Linked DNA regions of Homo sapiens: region 1 is linked to region 2. The links are contacts of gene promoters, found by promoter capture Hi-C in blood cells and fetal thymus (Javierre and others, 2016). All regions are on one chromosome and are shown on one strand. The core of a region is centred on a gene start or on the middle of the fragment in contact, and the rest is flanking DNA. Distances in the headings are between cores, read along the strand shown.

Region 1 (7,421 bases), core at 3,607-6,106, 260 kb before region 2:
TACTAAAAATACAAAAAATTAGATGGGCGTAGTGGCAGGCGCCTGTAGTCCCAGCTACTTGGGAGGCTGAGGCAGGAGAATGGCGTGAACCCGGGAGGCGGAGCTTGCAGTGAGCTGAGATCTGGCCACTGCACTCCAGCCTGGGCAACAGAGCAAGACTCTTGTCTCAAAAAAAAAAAAAAAAAAAAAGAAGTCATCAAAGAACTTTTTAATGAAACATTATACTGGAGAAATCTCTCAACTATCTTCTTAAGCACAATCAACCTCTCCAAACATGAGTACTAGGACCCACATATTGATTAAATGTGGAGACAAGTATCATCTGACTACAAGTTTAGTATAGGAAAAGAAGAGATCTGTTTCAAAACCCTCTGGAAAACCACTAGATTTATTCTAATAATTTCATACCTTTCTTTTCTATATTTTATAACTAAAAAAAAACCCTTTATTAGTAAACTGCTTTAGCTGTTCTCAGGGTGAATTCAAAATAGAGTAGTAGTTTAGAGCATATTTCCCCTCTAAAGGAACCTTTCAAGCTCATTAATAGTTATTAAAAGGCTGTGAACAGGCCCTCTGGTCATTACTTCGCACAAACAGGGACCTACAAGTCTCAAAGATCAAATCCTAGGGCCAGTGCTTTTAGATGCACAGGCCGTGAGAACCTACTCAGGAAAAGACTCATATATATATATATGAGTATATATATATATATATATATATATTTTTTTTTTTTTCCCTAGATGACTAATACATCCAAACTCTGGAGAACCAAAACTTTCTTTTTGTTAATCTGAAGATGCAAAGAAGTTTTGATCTAGAAAGGTTTAAAAAAAAAAAAAAGCAGGTCTTACTAGTATTGTAGGAATTGTAGGATAGTGCTGCTTCACAGTTGGAAACAAAAAGGAAAGCTCTGAACCCAAGAAGGAAGGAGAAGAAGCACTTGAAAATGGAGAGCCACTGAATCAAGGAAAAGACAAGAAAATTCTAATGCTATACAAATAAACCAATGAAATGGGTATTTCTGATAAACATGTTTTTAAAAGTAAAGCTGAAACTCTATTTGTAATACAGAATAATTAATCCCAAACTTCAATTCCGTATTACAGCTAGCTGAGGAGAAGGAGAAAGGGGGAGGAACATGGTGACAAAAAAGGATACAGGCTAAAAGGGGGCTTGAGTAAGTACACAGGTGGGTGTGCTAATCTGAGGGGAAATCTCAAACCTTGCTGTTTACTGGCCACAAGCCTAAGAACATATAATTTGTTGTATCTGCCCTTTGAAATTTCAGATGACTTGACTAGCATTTTAGTATGATTCTTTTTGTGCTGGGATTATTTAAATAGAGGAGAAAAGAAAGCAACTTACTTGAAGACGAGAGAAGTGAAAAGGAGGAGTTACCAAGGTGGTGGGAGAAGGAGGAGTTACCAAGGTGGTGGGAGATAGAAAAGGAGGAGGACAAAAAAACTCCTTTTCTCATTGCTTCCAGTAAACAAACGAACTTGCTACTAAAGAACATCACATAAAAGCCTACAGAAACGATTTTTCTTTAAAACAAAAAGTACAGAAGGGAAGGAGAGGTGTAGCAGCCAAAAAATAAACTTCATGCCTTCTCTGGAATTCATGTCGATACCTCATAATTTTGGCTAATTCAAGAAATAAAATTTTCTTTAAATAAATCACATTCCTAATTGCTTAAAATTTCCTCCTTTGACACCTTTGATACTTCACATGGAAATGGATAATGAAAAAATTGAATGAATCACAAATCATGATAAATCCTTGGAGAAGGCATAAAAATACCTCTGATTGACTGTATTTACACTTCATTTTCATTAATAATAGCTTTTTATGGGTGACTTTTCAAAAAAGATAAAATATAACCAACTTACCAGGCATACTTAAGTACATAAAACAAAATAACCCACACTGTTTTGGAAAAGAGATTTAACATAAACAAAAATTTTAAGGTCAAACAGTAACTAAATCATTAGAAATGTTAGTAAACCATGCATATTCAAAAGCCATTTCTTCTGTGCTGTAAAGCTGATAAATTACAAAAACATCTTAGTTGTTTTAAACCACTTTTAGAAAAAACAATTAGAAATATCTTTATTTTAGATGACAGTGAAATGCAATCCAAGCCCTTAATTAGGAAATATTATTTAAAGAAATGTGCAATGGTCTAGTAAGCCTGCTCCCCACACATTATGCATCTGTCCATCATACCATTGTAGATCACATGTACACTTTTTAAAACAATTAGATAACACAACAATTTTTATTCACATATTTCAAGGTTTTGAAAATGCATTAAAGACAGATGCATGTCAGTAGGTCTAGGGTCACTGGCAATAGGTTTAAACAGTATTAGAATGAAATTAACCTCAGACAGCTTCCATAAGGCTCTAAGTAGAGGTCTGTTTACATGCAGTAAAAGGAAGTGTTAAGAGAGGAGACCACAGAGAGTGCTGCTTTAGCAGATGCCTGCAGAGCACTCAGGATAGAAAAGGAGGTGCTGGGGAGGAACAGGTCATGCAGAAGGGAAATACCATGAAGGGGAAGCCAGAGCAGGATAGGAGTGAGAGACACAGACTCACTCTGTCTGCGGTGCGGTGGAACAGTCCGTGGGATCCCCTGGAAGGAGCCCTGCCAAGGAGAGAAGGAGGGAGCAGAATACCCACCCTGTGCAGAGAGAGATGGGGTAGGGAGGTATAATAAAAAAGGGAACCAAAAAATAGAGAAACCAAGTCATACTTTGTTTTACTTTTAAATAACACAGAGCAATAGTGTTAACGAGAAGACAGATTTCATTTTTTTAAAATACAGGCAGCTCAAATTACTAAAAATACATCATAATCCAAACCTAGTTATTTTTAATATTTTTTTAAAAAATTATTTTCCTCTAATATTTGTAGTACAATGTACAAGAAATAATATATTCTTTCCGGTATACATTACATTTATCATCATATATCTCTTGTTAAAGTAGCAGATTCCAGTCTTTTGCAGAAAAAGAAGGAATTTAAAGGGGGAGATAGACTTTAGGTGTTAAACACACAGAAAATGCACCAATTTGTGAATCAGGCAATACAAAAAAATTATCATCTAAAAATTTTTATTTCGGCCGGGTGCAGTGGGCTCACGCATGTAATCCCAGCACTTTGGGAGGATGAGGCGGGTGGATCACGAGGTCAGGAGTTGAAGACCAGCCTGGCCAAAATGGTGAAACCCTGTCTTTACTAAAACTACAAAAATTAGCCAGGTGTGGTGGCAGCCACCTGTAAAACCAGTTACTCGGGAGGCTAAGGCAGGAGAATTGCTTGAACCTGGGAGGTGGAGGTTGCAGTGAGCCGAGATGACGCCACTGCATTCCAGCCTGGGCAACAGAGCAAGACTCCGTCTCAAAAAAAAATAAAATTTCTTCTTAAATCACAGGTTTTCAGAGGATTAGCAGGTAAAAATAAAGAACATTAGCTAAAGTTAGCAAAACCAACACAGCATTAAAAAAGATTCAGGATGTTGTAATGTGACATGTAGGCCACTGGTTACGTGGACATGCTTTTTAATTTCAATAACTTGTGGCTTTTTAGCTTTACTTATTTTAATCACAGATTATCAGAACTACGATACTCCTGAAATGTCATTTACTTCAATGTCCTCACTTTACAGAAAAAACTTTTTTCAAGAAAGTAACTGTTCAATGTTATACAAAGGGAACCATATTGGGTCTTATGTCCTTAGCCTCCTTACTGACTGAAACATATGCACAAAAAAATCTACTGAAACACTCTTAAAATATCATTAAGGAAAATCAGCCTATAAATCATGATCATACCCAGTTAAATCTGCAAAAGAAATTATGTATATTTTTTCAGACCAATTAATCTGACTTAAAAATAATATTGTATTAAAAATTACGATAATAGTTTAACAGTGTTTACAGATCTTATGAAGGGTCTGAAATGAAAAAAATTTTTCTCACTTTCCGTATCAACATTCTTTGACTCAGGTATAATCAAATACTTCTTTAAATTTAAGGGTGATCCCACATTGTTCAATATAAAACAGAAACATAAAAGATCCATTTTCTATGTTGATGAAGGGAAAAAAAAAAGCCACAAAAACTAAATTAACAATCTTTAGGATATTCTAGTAAATAAAAATCTTATCTTTTGAAATTATTATACTTTTTTCTTTTGCTAATTTGGCAAAAACAGCTTAGAAAACATTGAATAAGGTGATGACCCCAGATGCTCTCCATAGATACTACCTGCTGTTATGCTGTTTGTGAAATGTTTTGGTTCAAAGGCTATATTTATACTAAACAAATTCTCAACCAAATCCTCCCTATGCGTTTTGCAGAACCAAGCTTCTACCCACTGTACTACTAAGTAAAGAAACTTTCAGATGGTAACTTCATAGACATGTTTAAGAAAACAGTCATTGTTTCCTTCACCAAAGAGGTATGTTTACCTTTGCAGGTCTGTGGAAATAGCACTGACCTTGGAATCAGGGAAACTTTTTTTCCTTGGATCTTTCCCAAGCCTTGTAACCTTGAGAAAATTACTGATTTTTGAGCCTCAGTTTCCTTATTTGTCAGATGCAGAGGCTGGACTGGTTCATCTCGAAGAACCCTCTTACTTTTAGTTCCTATAATTTAGTTACTCATATCTGTCCCCATCTCCACTCCAGTAATTTTATAACTCTATTTTTAATTTTGTAACTCTATTTATATGGCATTTAAAACAATCAACTTTGTATTAAATTGTCTCTCCTGCTAGATCATTAATTCCTGAAATAATTTAGGTGAAAGTATCTGTCACAGTACCTATAAGTTCGCAGGAGTTTTAAAAGATATTAGATGTCCCACCTTCTATAGCCTAAAACTCCCCCAGCATGTAGCAGACACTAAGTTAACTATTTACTGATTTAAACAAAATTAAATTAATTTACTGTGTTTATCTAGAGATGCAGCTGTAGCATCTGTCAATCCCGGCCACACACTATAACCACCTAAGAAATTTTAAAACCAAAAACAATGATATCTGTCTTTATTTCCCCAAGACCAACAAATCATAATCTCTGGCATAGGTCTGAGTATAAGAAGGGAAAGACAACCTTGTGAAATAAATACATAAACAGCGCTGCCTGCCACCGCCAAGGGGCACCCATCTATTAGCCTATCAAACAGTTGTATGCCATCAGAGCTTATGCCCAGAAAGACAAAGAATGTTACTCATTTTATTTCTGCCACCTACAATGCGTCTTCCACTTCTCTACCCATCTGTCAAAATCTTATCCAGCCCCCTTAGGTTCTTTCAAACCCATTTCCTAAAAGCTTTTCCTGATCCTGCCTAAATTAATTATGATCATTCTTGTTTATAAACACCCACAGCAATTGGTGGAATCTTTCTTCCTCTTTTCATTACTTTGATTTGAGTATCTTAAAAATTCTTCTATTAAATATAACCACCCTGAAAATAATAGCTCTCTTACTTTCCTTGGTGTCAACTACTTAGCTTCTTGTCAATTTACTTATAGAGAGTAGAAATAACATACTCTGATCAGCATTTAATAGAACAGGGAATTCCAGTTTCAGGAAAAGATGGAGTAGACATACTTCTCCCTTTTCCTGCTGTCAAATACAGCTAAAAACCCTGGGCACTATATATAAAACACAATATTCTGAAAGGTAGAGAGAAAAAGTGAGACCAGCTTGGGACCCAAGGAAAAATATGGTGATTTTCTTTTTGCCTAATGTATCCTAAAATGAGTGATAGAGAAGCCAGCCCCTGGAAATGACAAGGAACACACACAAAAAAAAAATTTAAGAAAGCCTGCACACTCTAGCCAAAGGATCAGGAAAGAGGAAGACTAGCAATGCAGGAAACTTGTATCCAGTAATCTACCTAACACCACAGAAAAACCTGTGGCCCCAGCCCCCATTCCCATCAGAAAGGGAGGACTGGGAAGGCCGGGCGCGGTGGCTCATGCCTGTAATCCCAGCACTTTGGGAGGCCGAGGCGGGCAGATCACGAGGTCAGGAGATCCAGACCATCCTGGCTAACATGGTGAAACCCCATCTCTACTAAAAATACAAAAAATTAGCCGGGCGTGGTGGCGGGCGCCTGTAGTCCCAGCTACTTGGGAGGCTGAGGCAGGAGAACAGCATGAACCCAGGAGGCGGAGCTTGCTGTGAGCCGAGATCACCCCACTGCACTCCAGCCTGGGCGACAGAGCGAGACTCCGTCTCAAAAAAGAAAAAAGAAAGGGAGGACTGGGGAGTGTAGGCCTCCACCCTTGTATGGCTGTGACATTTTCTTATGTACTTCTTAAAATACGCATAAAAAATATTTAAGAAACTTATAAATGGGAGAGGAAAAGGGACTTAAAAGGACATAAAGTTTCTACATGTAGTAGACTATATATAGTTAAATATATATGTATGTGTGTGTGAAATATAATGCCTACAGCAACAACTAAAACATTATTATAAAGACATAAACTCAAAACACTATATATAAATAAAAATAGAATTATTAAAAAACTAATATACAGAAAAGAAAAAACAGAAATAAAGAAAAAAGAAAAAAATAAAATGGCAGACTTACATAGCAAAAATTACATTAAATATAAAGGGCTGAAATATACCCATTAAAAGACAGATTGGTAGATTCATGGCCTAACTATATGCAGATTACAGGAAATTCATGTTAGGTATAAAAATATATATATTTTAAAATAAAAGATGAAAACGATATACCACGCCAAAAAAAAAAAACAAAAGAAATTTGATGTGCTTATATTATTATCAAATAGACTTCAGAGCAAAAAGAATACCCACATATAGAAAGAGACCTCACAAAATGATAAAAAGGTTAATCTACCAAGAAGACACAGTGATCCTAACAGCACACCAAACTGCAGAAACGTATAGTAGCTGAAGCATAATCTCATAAAACTGAGAGAATCGCCAAATCTACAATTACAGTTGGAGAGCTCAACACCCCATCCCAACAACTGATAAAAATAACTAGACAAGAAAATCAGCAATGACATAAAACTCAAGGACACCACTAACAACAGCACCTAGTCAATGCTTACAGAATATTCTATCCAACAATAGCAAAAAGCAATCTTTTCAAGAATCCACAGAACATTTACCAAGACAGACCATAGTTTGGGCCACAAGACAAACCACAACAAAGTTAAAATATTGAAATTATACAGAATGTGTTCTCTGACCACAATGGGATCAAATTAGAAATCAATAACAGAAAGATGACAAGAATATGTCCAAACACTTGGATACTAACATTCATACCCCTAAGTTATCCATGGGTCAGTCAGAGAGGAAGTCTCAAGAGAAAAAAAAAAAAAACCATATCAAACTGAATGCAAAAGAAAATACATAATGTATA
Region 2 (7,679 bases), core at 3,966-6,465:
AGTATAGAGATTCCTTAAATAACTAAAAGTAGATCTGCCATTTAATCCAGCCAAAAACACACATGCACATCTATGCTTACCGAGGCACAATTCACAATTGCAAAGATACGAAATCAATGTAAGTGCCCACTGACCAATGAATGGATAAAGAAAATGTAGTATATATACATCATGGAATAATAGCTGTAAAAAGGAATGAAATAATGTCTTATTACAGCAATTTGGATGGAGCTGGAGGCCATTATTGTAAGTGAAGTAACTCAGGAATGGAAAACCAAATGCTGTTTGTTCTCAGTTACAAGTGGGAGCTAAACCGTGAGTACGCAAAGGCATTCAGAGGACACAATGGACTCTGGAGACTCAGAAGGGGAAGGGTGGGAGAGGGAGTGGGATTAAAAAAACCTACAAATGAGGCACAATGTACGCTACTTGGGTGATGAGTGCACTAAAGTCCTAGCATTTGCCACGATGTAATTCATCTATGTAAACAAAAATCACTTGTATCCCCAAAGCTATTGAAATTTAAAACATATTTTAAATAAAATAAAAACCAAAGCATTGTGTATATAATGACATTTCTAGTCATTAAACATGAAATAAAAATGTAAATTTAAACCCCTTCCAAAAAATAAAGTGGTAAAATTTTATGGCATGTTTGAGGACCTGGAAGGATGCTAGATTGTAGGGTTCTCAGGAAAGGGAGACACGGGCTGGGGCCACCAGACAGTCGTGTCCAGAGCCTTCAGGACCAATCTAATGACTGTCACTTCCTCTCCATTGTCAGTTCTCATTAGGTGAGAAAACGTGCTGATGATTTCTCTGGGTCTGCTTTGAACCAAAGCTGCGTTCTCCATCAATTTAGCTTGGGCTGGCCCAGATTCAGGATTGACACTGTCTCTAGCTCTGGCCTCAGCGAGCATCTTAGGGATTCTAGGTTGAGGTAGGTACCTCGCAGACCCAGGTTGCCTCCAGAGGTGAAGTGCTTGGGCTCATAGGAGTAGACACAGTGAAAATAGTGGTGGGGCTGGAGAGGATGGGAGTGAATGAACTTAAATACCCTAGAGTCTATTTAGGCTAGCACTTTATACCCATTATCCCATTTAATCTTTACAACCACCCATTCGGAATGTCAAGGCATTGAGGGCAGAGAGCTGAAGGGACTTGGTTCCAGCCACACAAGAGCAGGAGGCAGAGCTGTCTGTCCCCAGAGCCTTTTGGGGGACTGATCTTATGTGGGATTCTCAGCAGGATTTCCAAGGAGTGGATTAAATTTTCTCCCGGCTGGAGGGACATGAAAAGTCCTAAAGCCTGGCTCTTGATCATCTCCTGGGCAGATGTCCCCTTTCAAAGTCCCTCCCTCCCTGACCCTTGCCTGGCTTCCTCTCTGCTCCCAGCGGGCAGTGTGCTGCACCTCACAGGTTCAATTGTCAGAACACCCCCCGAGTCCGGGCACAGAGGGGAAGGCAGCCAATGGGACCGGACACCCAGCTGGGTTTGGGGACCTCTCCTCTCCTTGCCAGCTCCACACTGGTGGCCTGGGTCCTCAGAACCCACTGGGCCCCCGCTGCACCCCAGGTTCTGCCTGGCTCACCTTCCACCAGTAGCACCATCCCCACAGCCAGCACCTCGAGCTCCCCGAAGCCAGTGGGCAGGGCACTGGTCTCTGCCATCCTCACTCTCCCTCACTGCCAGTGGCCCAGCTGTCTCTGGCTTCCCACAGCCAGGCCCTCCCTTTTAAAGGGCCATCCCATGTGCGTGGAGGCACATGCAGGTTATTATGTTGGACCTTGGGCTGTTTCTGGATGCCTCCCCGCTGCAAATGGTCCTCTTGGCCCAAGCAGAAGGAACCCATTCACGAGTTGGACAATGCAGCCTTTGTGAAGCCAGAATGGAGCCCTGTCTCATTCATTTCAGCCCCATTGCACAGGATTAAGGTCGGGGAATCCAAATGGTGTGTGGCTGAGAGCCTAATTGGAAAAGAGTTGCATAACCAGGGGAGGGGAGCAGGAGGAGGGATTTGAGCCGCAGCTGTTCCCAACAAGCCTGGTGCCTGTGTGTGTGTCCTCAGGCTCACATGAGTATACTCCAAAGCGCTGGGGAAAGGATGAGGCTTGGGAAGTCGCCTGCTGTCAGAGGAAGAACCCCATCTGGGACCAGAAAATGGGGTTGGGGTTCTGGTTCTGAATCTGCCACTAACTAGTTATGCGCCTTGGAGTGGGACCACTGGACTCTTCCGTTTACTTTTCTGCAATGTCAATGTCTTTTGTCTGTGGCCTTTATATAAGTCCTGGTTAGATATCACGAATATAAACCTCAGGGCTGCATTTCCTGTCTCCCATAGAGCACCTGAGCATAAAAAATGTCCTAGGACACTGTCTTAGAACAGAGGGGCTGCCTGCCGTCTTGTCAGTCTCCGACCCCGAACCCGCCCAGCCTTGCCGGCCCCACTAAGAGCTTTGGCTGCTACAAATGACTTCTTGATACACTGGCTCTTTATGCACTGTTATGCTCTGGCTCATGATAAAATTTACACCAGGAAATACTGATCTAGGACAACTTAGTTCATTTTCAGATAAAGAAACCAAGCTCCAGAGCACTATCAGCAACATAGCTAATATTGAGTGAGGTCAGGCCCTGTGCTAGGGGATCTTCTGATGAGTCCTACAACAACTCCATGAGTTAGATACCATTATCCTTTCCATTTTAGATGAGGAAACTGTGGCTAAAAACAGTTAAGAATCTGCCTGAGGCCATGCAGTAATTTATGGATGGAGCTGGAACAAAAGCCGATCTCCTATTCCTCAGGCTCAGGCATTTTTCAATGGCATCTTCTGACTCACCTGGTAGAGCAACCCACTCTGTTCCAGGAATGCCCACTTCCCAGGCCTTTCCTCTCATGAGTCCTCACTTACATCCAAGCCTAATCCCTCTGCAGGGCTGAGCTTATGGCTGCGCCCTCCAGAGCGTTCCCTGTTCTTTCTCAATTTCTTTTTTGTTTTTTTGTTTGTTTTTGAGATGGAGTCTCGCTCTGTCGCCCAGGCTGGAGTGCAATGGCGCAATCTCGGCTCACGCAACCTCTACCTCCCCAGTTCAAGCTATTCTCCTGCCTCAGCCTCCCGAGTAGCTGGGATTACAGGCATGTGCCACCATGCTCGGCTAATTTTGTATTTTTATTAGAGACAGGGTTTCTCCATGTTGGTCAGGCTGGTCTTGAACTCCCGACCTCAGGTGATCTGCTGGCCTTGGACTCCCAAAATGCTGGGATAACAGTCATGAGCCACCCTGCCTGGCCTTCTGTCTCAATTTCTACCTTATGGTGTTGGTTAATACATATGTCAGTCCTTTTTTCATGCCTTCGAGATCACAAAAGCCTTCATGAGAGGAGATAAAGCAGGGCAAGGCCAAGATTAAAGGGTAAAGTTCATTTGGGCAAAAGACACAAGGAGGAAGAAGCAGAGATGTGGGAACAGGCAAGCTGACGGCTGGGTTTGGGGAGGTGGAAGTATAGCTGGGAAGCACTGAGAAAATCCTACTGGCTGCATTGGAAGGAAGGAAAGAATGAGAAGCCAGTATTGTTGAAACAGACCTGGCTCCGAGCTAGGCATTTTATGTGTGCACTGGGGCCCCAGATATCTTTGCAGGTCATACCTCACTGGTCTAGGCCTGCCTGGAGCCACAGGCATGAAGGACTGGGGAACCTTCTAGAAAAGCCAAACAACATAGGTAGGGCATGCTGGACCAGAGAACAATGCCTCAGGGTCAAATGTGAAGAATGAATGAATGAGTCGACTGAGTGTCTACTGCTGGGAATCATCCCTGGTCAGTCCCCACTGGCATCTTGAGTAGATATGGTGGGGCGAGATAGGGTTAGGAGAGAATAAGTAAAAATTGAAATTAGTCTGGGTGCAGTGGCTCAGGCCTGTAATCCCAGCACTTTGGGAGACTGAGGTAGGAGGATCGCTTGAGGCCAGGAGTTTGAGACCATCCTGGGCAACATGGCAAGACCCTGACTGCAAAAAATAATTTTTTAAAAATAGCCAAACATGGTGGTGGTTGCCTGCAGTTCCAGCTACTTGCGAGGCTGAGGCAGGAGGATGGCTTGAGCTCAGGAGTTCGGGGCTACAGTGAGCTATGATTACACCATTGCACTCCACTCTGAGTGACAGAGCAACCCTGTCCCTATAAAGCAAAACAAAGCTTTATGGATGGAGAATTTCCAAAGGCCCTTATTAGAGGTTGGGGTCCTGTCTCCAAAAAAACCTGAAAGTGCCTTCTCTAAGACCTCTCTGAGCTACCTCTCTGGGGCCCTCCTTGGAGTAGGGCACCTTGAGGAGAGGGGTGCCCTTGTCCCTTATGTGGAGACATCTCCACCTTTGGCATTCGTAGCAATGCCCAGAAGGGCTCAGCTGAAATAGTAGTGTGTTGAGTCCATATCCATGGGGCACTCAAGGCAGGCAGCTGTTTGCCTGGCAGCCTGGGACAGTTTGTGGGCTCATGAGAGACACCTCTGATGTCTCCCCAAAATATCTGAATCTGTCCAGTTCTTCTGTAAGTAGGGTCTTATAAGTACCAGTGAAACTGGGCACTTACAACTTGTGAGAGAGCTTCTGTTCCCACAGGCTGTCAAGGCCTTGGAATTTGAGTTTGATTTTCACAAACACCCTGCATGAAGTAACTTTATTTCTCTTTGTCAGATAAGGACACAGAGGCCAAGAGATAATGTGACTCACCCAAGGTCACAGCCCCTTAATGGAGCAGCTGGGATTTGACCCCAGGAAGCCTGGGTCCAGAGCTTAGCCTCCTTCCAATGCCTTTAGCACCATCAGGAAGAGTTGCTTCATTTCACTGCTTTTTTGCTATGAGACAGTGTCACAGGAAAGAATTTCCAAAGGCCCTTACTGAGGCGGGGGTTCTTTCTCCATCTTCCCTGGCACTCCAGTGGGGTCTGTGTTGTCCGTGGCCTTGTTGGGATGGGATGCTTTGCAGATGACAGTCCCATGGCTGCTCGCCTCTGGAAAGCTGCCTACTTGTCTTGCTTTGCTGTGCCCTGCCCTGGCCTCTCTGGGCCTGTGGATATTGCTATGGAAGGGGGTCCCCCGCCCCTACCCTCAGGACTGAGTGATTCAGAAAGCAATAAGCCTCTGAGTGCTGCGGCTGGGACTCCCCTCCCTAATCCCCAGTCTGTCCATGTTTATCCGATGGCCTCAGGAGGGGGTGTAAGGGGCTGGCGAGCAAGTGGGCAGCTGCTGAGCTTGCTGGGCCGGTGGGACGGAGCGGTCCAGGGACAGGCCCCTGCCTGGGCCAGAGAGGAGCCAGGAGCCATGAGGGTGGCATTAGGCATGCTCTGGCTCTTGGCCCTTGCGTGGCCCCCCCAGGCCCGGGGCTTCTGCCCCTCTCAATGCAGCTGCAGCCTCCATATCATGGGTGATGGCAGCAAGGCCAGGTATGGTACCGGGTGCGTGGGACGGGCAGCCCAGCCTCCATTGCTTTGCCAGCTAGGCTGGGTTGGGAGGAGTTGGAGCTGGGGCCCTGGGTGAGGTCTTCATCTCCCTTGGCCCTTGAGGACCAGGGATCCTATGGGGTGGACTGTGCTGCATTGTTTTCCAGCAGGCAAGGGGGTGACTCTATTCGAGAGGTACCAGGTATCTATACACATGGGCCCGAGGGTGAGGCACAAGTATGTCAGTTCTAAGAAGTCCTTCCTAAGTCCTCCTCCAGGCTCCTGGTGAAGAGCCCTCCTTAAAGGTCCAGGAAATCTCCTCCCTTACTGCTTTTTCTTCTCTTTTATTTTTTCTATTCCCTCTTCTTTTCTATATTTCCCCAGCCCCTTCTTTCCCAGGCCACTTGCACTCTCTTGCCTGACCTCTCTACAATATTCAATCATATCCCAGGCATTTCCTACAACCCCACCCATGATGGGACCACTTGCCTCTCATTCTCTTCCTCCTCTCCATCTTCGCTGGCCAGATCCCAGGAGCCTCAGCCTCAATACCTTTTTATGAGTGCTCCAAAAGCCAGGAGTGCCCATCCCATGACAAGCATGCTTCCTTCCATCCCCAGCCTTTTCCTTGACTTTCCCCACCCTCTGTCTGATCCCTCAGAGCACCTCCATTCTCTCCTCCTCTCCTTTCATGGGACATTCCCATGCCACTGTGGCTTGTGGACCCTTGCTCTTCCACTACTGCTCATTTTCTTCTTTTCTTTAGCAACGTTTAAATCATCTTTTCTCCAACTTCTTTAGCTTATCCATTAATGACCTCTGCATGGTTTCTGAGCCACTGATGGTTTCTGATCCTGGGAACAATGTTATTGGAGCTACCCTTTTAATAATCTTGGCAATGAATGTCGAGTTGATTGGGGGATGAGAGGAGAATGGAGAAGAACCACTAAGAAAAGACACCTCAAATGATCTGAGAACCAGAATGAGCTCCACTGTAGCCCAAGTGTCCAAGGCATCAACTCATATGAAGTGTAAGGGTCCTGTCCCCAGTAGAAGCCAGGCTGAGCCCTGAACAGCCTGCTGTTCCCAGCCTGGGCAGTGTCACTGGAGTGACAAAAAGCCTCCCACCACCCGTAGAAGGCATAGGGCTGAAAGCCACACAGCATCATTGACAAAACCGGTCCTGGAACCCAGGCATTCCGATTCAGTTTTCAGAACACTTATCTGGTGATGCTGCCATGGGCAGGGACCAGTGGTAAGTTCCAGGCAGCAGAGTTAATCTTAAGATGGAAAATGAGTTTCTAGGGCCGCTAATGTAAGTCAGTGGGCATTCCCTTCTCTGAAGCCAGAGCTCTTGGTTCTACCCGCCTGACTATCCCATGGCTAACATGCACCAGCCCATCTGCATGGAGGGTCCTATGAGGCCATGAAAGGTGGTAGCGGGCCCTGAGGTCCCCTGTGGCTATGGGCACAGACTGTGCAGTTAGACCAAAGCTCGTTCTGCATGTCAGAAGCCTTCCTCAGATCCCTCTCTAACCTGGGCCTCTCAGAGAGCCCAGCCTTTATGTCTGAGCTGTTGTATCGTGAAGTGTGTGCCTGTGGGCACTGGGGTTGCCTGGGAGGAGCTGGGCTATGCATCTGAATGGATTTGTGCCCATGCTGTTTGTCCCAGTTTGCCTCTGGTTTTACCCCACCCGGAGTTGTGCTGGAGGTTTGAGCTGTGGTGTAGGCTTGCATTGAGTTCTTATGGTTTCCTTTAAATGCCCCTTTTACCGTTTTCTCTCCCGTTCAAGATAAGTTTTCCAATCACCTGTCTTTCTCTCACCTACATCCAGACCTTCCTCCTTGCAATACCCAAACCTGTATTACTTTTTTTGAGACAGGGTCTTGCTCTGTCACCCAGGCTGGAGTGCAGTGGCACAATCATAGCTCACTGTAGCTTCCAACTCCTAGGCTCAAGCCACCTTCCCACCTCAGCCTTCTGAGTAGCTGGGACTACAAGCATGAGCTATCACACCTGCCCGAACCTATTGTAGTATCTGGAAATATCATTGCTGTAAATGCTCTTTCTTCCTGAGCTAGATTACACACTGTATGGAGACAGGGGCTATGAGGCTGATTCTCTTCTGAATTGCTCATCACTTAGTAAGAGTTCCATGTATATTTGCTCAAAAGGAGTGAGTAAGAATATCCGTGCTGTTTGTGGACACTGTTTACAAGAAAAAACAAGCCCAGCCCA

What was found. The method cuts DNA at HindIII sites, captures the fragments that hold promoters and counts their contacts. A CHiCAGO score of 5 or more calls a contact.
Region 1: a fragment that was not itself captured here is called in contact with the fragment with the promoter of LRIT1 in region 2 in 1 of 17 cell types (activated CD4 T cells); the score reaches 5.2 in activated CD4 T cells.

The regions. Positions count from the first base shown.
Region 1 is chr10:84,495,136-84,502,556 of GRCh38, reverse strand. All of the region lies in intron 9 of CCSER2 (coiled-coil serine rich protein 2), which reads right to left. Among named protein-coding and RNA genes, the nearest start is that of CCSER2, 170 kb to the right of the region's middle. The HindIII fragment of the contact is 969 bases long and covers 4,372-5,340 here.
Region 2 is chr10:84,239,082-84,246,760 of GRCh38, reverse strand. LRIT1 (leucine rich repeat, Ig-like and transmembrane domains 1) reads left to right here and starts at 5,215. Exons shown (of 4, transcript NM_015613.3): 1 at 5,215-5,443. The coding sequence starts at 5,322. RGR (retinal G protein coupled receptor) reads right to left here and starts at 1,708. Exons shown (of 7, transcript NM_001012720.2): 1 at 1,592-1,708. The coding sequence starts at 1,670. RefSeq lists an enhancer at 1,063-1,562. The HindIII fragment of the contact is 15,150 bases long and covers 4,200-7,679 here.